Linked DNA regions of Homo sapiens: region 2 is linked to region 1. Evidence: promoter capture Hi-C in 16 types of primary human blood cells and fetal thymus (Javierre and others, 2016). All regions are on one chromosome and are shown on one strand. The core of a region is centred on a gene start or on the middle of the fragment in contact, and the rest is flanking DNA. Distances in the headings are between cores, read along the strand shown. Region 1 holds the start of ELF4 (E74 like ETS transcription factor 4). Region 2 has its middle 28 kb from the start of BCORL1.

What was found. The method cuts DNA at HindIII sites, captures the fragments that hold promoters and counts their contacts. A CHiCAGO score of 5 or more calls a contact.
Region 2: a fragment that was not itself captured here is called in contact with the fragment with the promoter of ELF4 in region 1 in 1 of 17 cell types (total CD8 T cells); the score reaches 5.2 in total CD8 T cells.

The regions. Positions count from the first base shown.
Region 1 is chrX:130,108,902-130,112,475 of GRCh38, forward strand. ELF4 (E74 like ETS transcription factor 4) reads right to left here and starts at 1,596. Exons shown (of 9, transcript NM_001421.4): 1 at 1,424-1,596. It also overlaps a transcript of RAB33A not described here. RefSeq lists silencers at 1,478-1,547, 1,628-1,777, 2,028-2,077, 2,088-2,137, 2,208-2,327. The HindIII fragment of the contact is 7,600 bases long and covers 1-3,574 here.
Region 2 is chrX:129,952,801-129,956,374 of GRCh38, forward strand. No RefSeq gene overlaps it. Among named protein-coding and RNA genes, the nearest start is that of BCORL1, 28 kb to the right of the region's middle. RefSeq lists an enhancer at 48-778. The HindIII fragment of the contact is 4,564 bases long and covers 1-3,574 here.

The DNA of each region.
Region 1 (3,574 bases), core at 346-2,845:
CTGGCTGGGATAGGAAGTCCTCCCTGATAATCTTCACTGAACTCCAGAGAGCTCCCCCTACGCTGCTCCTGTACTGGATGCACTGAATCTGAATTAATGGTTGAGAAAGCACTTTATAACCAGGAAAACCCAGTGTAACTAACTGCAAGGAAGGACTGGCATTCTTGCTGGGCATATGTGTTCCCCGGGCATTTTCAGTGCCAAAGTCTCCCCAAAGGGAAGAGCTAGAACTGTTCCCTTCACCCACCTCCAACCTGGCACTCGGGCCAGGGGTCAGCTGGCAGGGGGTGAGTCCCCAATGGGCGTGCCCACCAGCTGTTGGGGCTGAGCAGTGGTGGTTCAGGCCCTGGGGTGGTGACCTCACTTCCGCTCCTACCTCCCCACCTCCCCAGCACTCCTCCCATTTGAGGCCCCACCAGGCCAAAATCGAGAAGTCCAAGGTTAACTGTTCTTTCCCACTTTAAGAGCTAATTAAAATAATTAGCCACAATGAACTGTCAAACATTAACCAGAAGAGGCTGCAGGACCAGACAGGCCTCTATCACAGGCCGAGGGATGAGGGGCAGGAATCAAATGGCCATCAAATCCCTCAGCTGGGGTATGGTGCGGGGCGGGGGCGGCCCAGGAGGACCTCGCTGAGCCGAGGTGCCAAGGGGTCAGGAGGTGACTCTGGTCAGGAAGGTGATGTGCAGGCATACGGTGGTGAGAAAAGGGAGTCAGGGTTAGGGTGCGGTGGAGGAGCCAGGAATTCATAAAGCGGTCACCGCCTCAGCAGTCCCTCAAGCCTCCAAAGCAAGGCGCTGGCGTGAGGGGACCCCGCACGGTGCGGCTGCTGAATCCCCTAGGCGGCGGCCCAGGAGGGAACCCGGAGGCGGGAGAGTCGGGGAGAGCGGGAACGCGGGAGCGGGAAGGCTGGCGGCTGGCTCACACGGAAACTCCGGCCCCTGCCAAGAGGTCTCTATTTTGGCGATCCAGTTCTCCACATCATAGGTCTGCGTGCGCGTGTGTGCGTGTGACCCTAAAGCCCTGGCCCCAGAAGCCCCGGGGGCAGTCGGATCCATCTAGCAGCTCCGCCGCGGTCCGCCCCACCTCCTCTGCCCTCGGGCGCCCAGCTTCTGGGGGCCCGCTGTCATGATCGGCCCCGTCACGGAACCCAGGCTGCCGGGGGCGAGGGAAAACAGGGGCCCCTACCCCGACTCCCCGACTCGGGGAATCCATTCCACTTCCATCCCGGGATCGGGAGCCCGGGTTCTCCATCACACGCGCGGCGGGGCGACTCCAGGGCGGCTCGCGACACTCCGCGACTCTCCCGCCCTTCCCTGGGCCCCCAGCCCCACGCCGGGGCCCCGGCGCTCTCGATTCCGCCCTCAAGCAAACTTTTCCACGTCCCCCAAGGCTCGAAGAACCGGCGCCATCGACGTACCTGAGGCCGAGTGGCTCACGGGCCCAGCTCGGTCGCCGGGCCGGGGTCTGTCTCCGTGGTCCCCGCTCCGGGGGCCGAGACGCGGGTCCCCAGCCCCGCCAGCCCGTCCTCTCCCCTCGGAAGCCGGGCCGGGCGAGCGGCGCCAGGAACTCGGCGCCGGCGAAAGGAGAAGTGGAAGTTGAGCGCGGCGCCCGGTCGGTCCCCGCGGCCGCCGGGGCCGCCGTCCCCCGCCCTCCTCCCCGCCCGCCCTTCTTCCCCGCCCGCCTGCCCCCGCCACCCCGCGCCCGTGACTCACCTCGGCGCCGGGGCAGGCTGGTCCGGGCGGGCGAGGCGCAGGGCTCTCCCACACTTCGCGCCGCCAATGGCAAGTTGGAGGGAGAGATGCAAATACCAGGTGAGACGGCGGCGCCCCTGATAAAACGGGGCGGGGGGCGGGGTGGAGCGCGCGGGGAGCGGGGCGGACGCCGGGGAGGGCCGGGCCAAGACACGGGGCGGCAGGGGCGCCCGGGGAGGGGGCGCGAACCGGCGCAGACATGCACCGAAACGAGCGAGCGAAAGGGGAAATGCAGTAGAGACACACACGTCCCCGCAGGCGGCGGATGGGGCGGGCGCGAAGGAGGCAGGGCGGGAGGGAGGGAAGAGCCGGAGGGAGGGACCGACGGGAGGGACTGCGGGCGGGCGGGGTGGGGGAGGGAACGAGGGAGGGACGAGGCATCTCGGTGGAAACAGCGCCCGTCCGCCCCGGCCCGCCCGCCGCGGTCGCCAGCACGGCATGGGGAGCCGTGCCAGGGGCCCGCGCGGCCTCTCATTCCCCTCGCGGCTCGCTCGCGCCCGGGGGACCACGAGGCAGGGCGCCCGCAGAGCCCGCGTCGTGCGCCGCGGCCCGGGCGGGCGCTCCCCACTCTGCTTCTAGCCAGCGAGACTCCGAGCTCTCTGCTCGTTCCGCGCCCTTCCCGGTGCGAAGCCCCCATACAACGCCCCGCAGAGAAATCCCTTCCCCGCGGACTCGGGAAGGTTTCGTCCAGCCCCCTCGGCCCGTGCAAGTGGAGACTTGCTTGACGCCTTTGGGCCAAGCCCTGCGCTCCACATTATTGAGCTCCTGGGGTGTGCAGGCCCCAGCGGGAGGGCGGGCCGTGCGGCGGGTGAGGCCGCGAGATGCCCAGAGGATACAATTTTGGAACCATATGCCCGACTCCGCAGAATCCTGGGCGTAACACCTGGGGTGACTGGAGAGTTTCGGCGACTTCTTAGGGAAGTCGAGTCTAGGACTCCTGCGGGAAGTTGGGGTGGGGGACGCTGGCAAGATATGAGTCAGGGGAAGGGCTAGGGGGAGAGGGGCTGGCCCAGCAAGTGCAAAGAGAGCCAGAGTTCGGGTGCTGGAAGAAAGCCCATGCCTACCTTTCTTCCCCTGTCCAAAGCCAGGCTGCTCTGCTCCACGCGCCCACTTGAAAGCCACTCAGGCACGCTCCCCTTCTATCTCCCCTTTGCCCTCTCTGACCTGCCTCAACATCAATACCGCCGCCTACGTGGGTCTGCTGATAGGAGGCTCTGGAGAGAGTGCGCTGGGAATTGTTACTCTGTATAGTTCCACGTGGCCTTTTTGGGGGTGGGGGCAGCAAGGCCTAAGCCTTGGCAGAAAGCATCAAGACTGAAGGAGCCCCAGGGGATGGGGCCTTCTAAAGGGCTTGAGGTTGAAGGACCTACTCAGCCTCCAGCATCGGCCTGCTTCTCCTGCCTTGGGAAAGGATCATCTCAGGCGCAGGACTGGGGGACAGGAGTGGTGGTGGATGATGGCCACAAAGGCAGCTGCAGATTACAAGTTCCCAAGGAAAGATCCTGTGGCTGGACTGGGGCGCCGGCCCCTGAGACCTCCTGGATACTCAGAATCAAGTCCCCAAAACAAGCACTTTGTCTTTTCCAAGCGGGCATGCTTTTCCCAGGGGATTCCAGATCCTGGAGACACACAGTTCTCTGCTGGCCTCTCATCCACGAGGTCCCCTCTCAAATTTGGGGTAGGTTCCGGATGTCCCTAAGCCCTCTTTACCTTGACTTTGAAATTCACGAATGGACAGACACGTCTGCACACGCGTGCACACACACACACTTTCCCATTTTGCTAAGAGCTCAGTGGTCTGTAACCTCAGACAGACC
Region 2 (3,574 bases), core at 428-2,927, 160 kb before region 1:
CTCTCTCTCTCTCTCTCTCTCTCTCTCTCTCTCTCTCTCTCTCTCTCTCTCTCTGCCTCTTCGGCTCACGTGACCGCTTGCTCTCAACGGCTCCGATCACCTCTTCCTGAGGCAGCACCTTTCGGTTGGTAACAGGAGACACTCGCTTGTTGGGGGCAGGATGGGTTTCCTTCCTCCGCTTTTTCCTCCTGGCCTTCTCGGGCAGTTCCAGCCGCTTCTCTCTGGCGCAGCCTCTGGCCCTCCACCCCTCCAGCCTCTCCCAGCCCCCATAGTGCTCGTTTACTCTCCCCTTCCCCTCCGCACCACCCCCCCACGCCCACCGGGGCCTCCCTCCTCCCCGGCAGCCAGCCCACTTTGGGGAGGGGGCTTCGGCGCAGGGGACAGACAAAAGGGCCTGGACGGACCCGGGGGCACCCCTCTGCAGCTCCCCACAACCACGTGGCCCCTCCCTCCTCGGGCAGCCGGCAGCTTCCCCCTCCCCTGCCCAGCCGGAGGTCTGGGGAGTTCGGGCCCCGAAGCATCCTTCCGGGCCTCGCTGGCGCCAATCGCTCCGCCGCGGGTGCTGAGCCTCCGGGTGCTTCGAATACCAAGGAATGCACCGGGCATGGGTGGGGGACATGCTCCGGGGGCGGAGGCAGCTTTTTCGGTTCCCAGGCTGGAGAACGGCCAGCCAAAGGGAGGAGACTCGGCCCCCGCCGTCGGAAGGTTCCCGGTACAGTGGGGTTGACAAGATCTCCAACCTCAGGGAGCTCCAGGTCTGATAGGAGAGACCCAGTCTCTCTCCCTTTAGCAGTTCAAACTCAACAGTAAGGATGAATCCAAAAGTGGGATGAAGGTGCCCTGCAAAAGCAGAGCTGGCCTATGTATTCGTGAACTTCTGGCTGAACCAGATTGTTTTTGGGCCATGTTGTCCAGCACTTAGCGAGCTGCCCTTCCCATCCTACCAACTCCTGCCACCAAAAGTTGGAATGGAAAGTGAGCTCCTTCCCATTCCATACCGTGGTAAAATTTAAACAAGGCCATTGAAGATGAAGGTTATCCAGTAAATCAGCCAAAACATTCACAAAACATTCTCAAAGCAGCCTCTGTAAATGCACTCTTAGCTAGGGTCTAGAGCCATGGCACTAGCCTGGCCCTAGATACCATGTGTATGCATTTTAGAGTCTTCGGAGGTACTGTTCCCCTGAGTCTCCCCCTCGCCACCCGCTGACCACTTAATACCATTTTAGTCAACAAGGCTAAGTCCCCTCAGGGGATATGCCTGTGGCCAGAGCCACACTTGGTGCACTTTAGGCATAGCCCTGGCCAATCCCAGAACAAAAGACCCAAATGCTGGGAGGGGAGGGGTGACAGAAAGAATTCCATCTCTCCAGTATCTTAGGGAGGGATTTGAGCCGAGAAGGGCCTCAGGCTTGACAGGGACCAGCAGAATAGCACTTGCCTGCAACCAAACCTAGTAAGAATGGCCACCACAACTACTATTTATTGAACCCTCACAAACTGCCAAGTACATAGCACACTAATCCCAATAACAGTCTTATATGGTAGGTACTATTATTATCCCCGTTCAACAGATAAGGCAACTATGGTTCAGAGAAGGTAACTTGAAGAGGTCACACAGCTGGTTAGTGGCAGAGCTGGGTTTGGAATCCAGGTCTGGCCAATGCCCAAGTCCAGCTCTCTAATCACTATACTACCCAACCTCTTTCCCACAAAGAGTGATTCTAAAACTCTCCCAGAAGCAACAGAGACAACTGGGTCAGGGCATGGTCTTGCTGGAAACTGGCTATTTGCCAAAATGTAGAGAGGTCAACAGGCGCCCAAAGTCACCCTGCTGGCTTTGTAAATGCCACAGAGACTCCCACATAAAAGTCCAGACTCCTAGATTCCTAACCTAGAATGCAAAGGAGACATCCTATCTGCCCATCCCCACAGACATCATCCCACTTCCGGTTTCTGTCTTCTGGGTAGCAGTGAGGTTTTCAGGATGCCAGGCTAAGGGTGAGCTTCTTGGAGGCAGTGTTGTGGGGATGGGCTTGATAATGGACCCCCGCTGCCCTACCCCCAGTCCTCCCTGGAGGGAGGACAAATAGGCCCATTGATTTGAAACTCTCCCAGAGGGCATTAGAGTAATGACTCTGGACTGTGTGATGCCTACACCCGCTTTGACCTGCTGACTGACCCCTGCCCTGGGAGGTTCCAAAGGCCACAAATCTCAGTTGCTTGTGGGCCATGTGGTTTGTGGCTGTTTGTAGTATTGGAGGGGAGGGGGAAATGAGGGGGGTAAGATACACTGCTTCTCACTGTGCTGGGCTTCCCAAGAGAACTAGCAAGGGGTGGACAGGGCCCCTTCTAAACACTGCCAAGACACACTGCAACTACTGATACGGGCTCCATCATTTATTTTTGAAAGCAGGAGGGCTCCTGGCTCATTTGCATAAATGTTTGCACTGCCTGCTATATTTTGATTTGGAAGAAGGGCACCAGGGCACAGAATATACATAACAGATTTGTAACTGGGCAGCTTGATCCTGTCCCTGGCCAGGCGAGCCAAAGATGGCCCCTCACCCTTTGTGTCTATTTTTGAAAGCCCCTCTTAAGTGCAAAGCCCAGCACCAAGGATGGGTGGCAATAGAAAGACCTCGCCCTGAATGGGGTGCTTCTAAGCCAGGTGTGTAGGTGGATGGGTAGATAAGGCAGCACTTGACTTGAAAAAGGGATGAACGGGCATGGTGGCTCACACCTGTAATCCCAGCACTTTGGGAGACCTGAGGCATGAGGATCACTTGAGCCTAGGAGCTTGAGACCAGCCTGGGCAACAGAGAGAACTTGTCTCTACAAAAAACATGTTTTTGAGAATTAGCTGGACATGGTGGCGCGCACCTATGGTCCCAGCTACTTATGAGGTTGAGGTGGAGGGATCGCTTGAGCCCAGGAGGTCAAGGCTGCAGTAAGCCATGATCGCTCCAATGCACTGTAGCCTGAGCAACAGAGCAAGAGACCCTGTGGAAAGAAAGAAAGAAAAAGACAAGAAAGGAAAGACAAGAAAGAAAAAAAGGAAAAGAAAGAAAGAAAGAGAGGAGGAAGGAAGGAAAGAAGGAAGGAAGGAGAAAAGAAAATGGCTGGAAGTCTGGATTCCTAATTTCTATCATTCAACAAAGAAACATTTATTGTCTTCTATGTGCCGGGCACTTTAGTAGACACTGAGGTGAGATGATAAATATTGAGACCCTATCTCCATCATTGAGGTACTCCTAATCTAGCACAGGTGATGAAAACACAGTCAAATAGCCCTAGGGCAGTGTGCCATCAGAGAGAATAATGGAGGCTTGCTAAAGTAGCACTCAGCTAGTGGGGTGGGGGTCTGAAGAGACTTGGTGAGGGACACGGTTGCTTAATTGAGTCTTAAGCATCAACCCTGCTCCCATTCCCAAGCTGTGTTTTGTTACCATTTTTTTTAGATAGGGTCTTGCTATGTTGGCCAGGGCAGTCTCGAACTCCTAGCCTCAAGCAATCCTCTCGCCTCCGCCTGCCAGTGTTGTGATGACAGGCGTGAGCCACCGCGCCTGGCCTC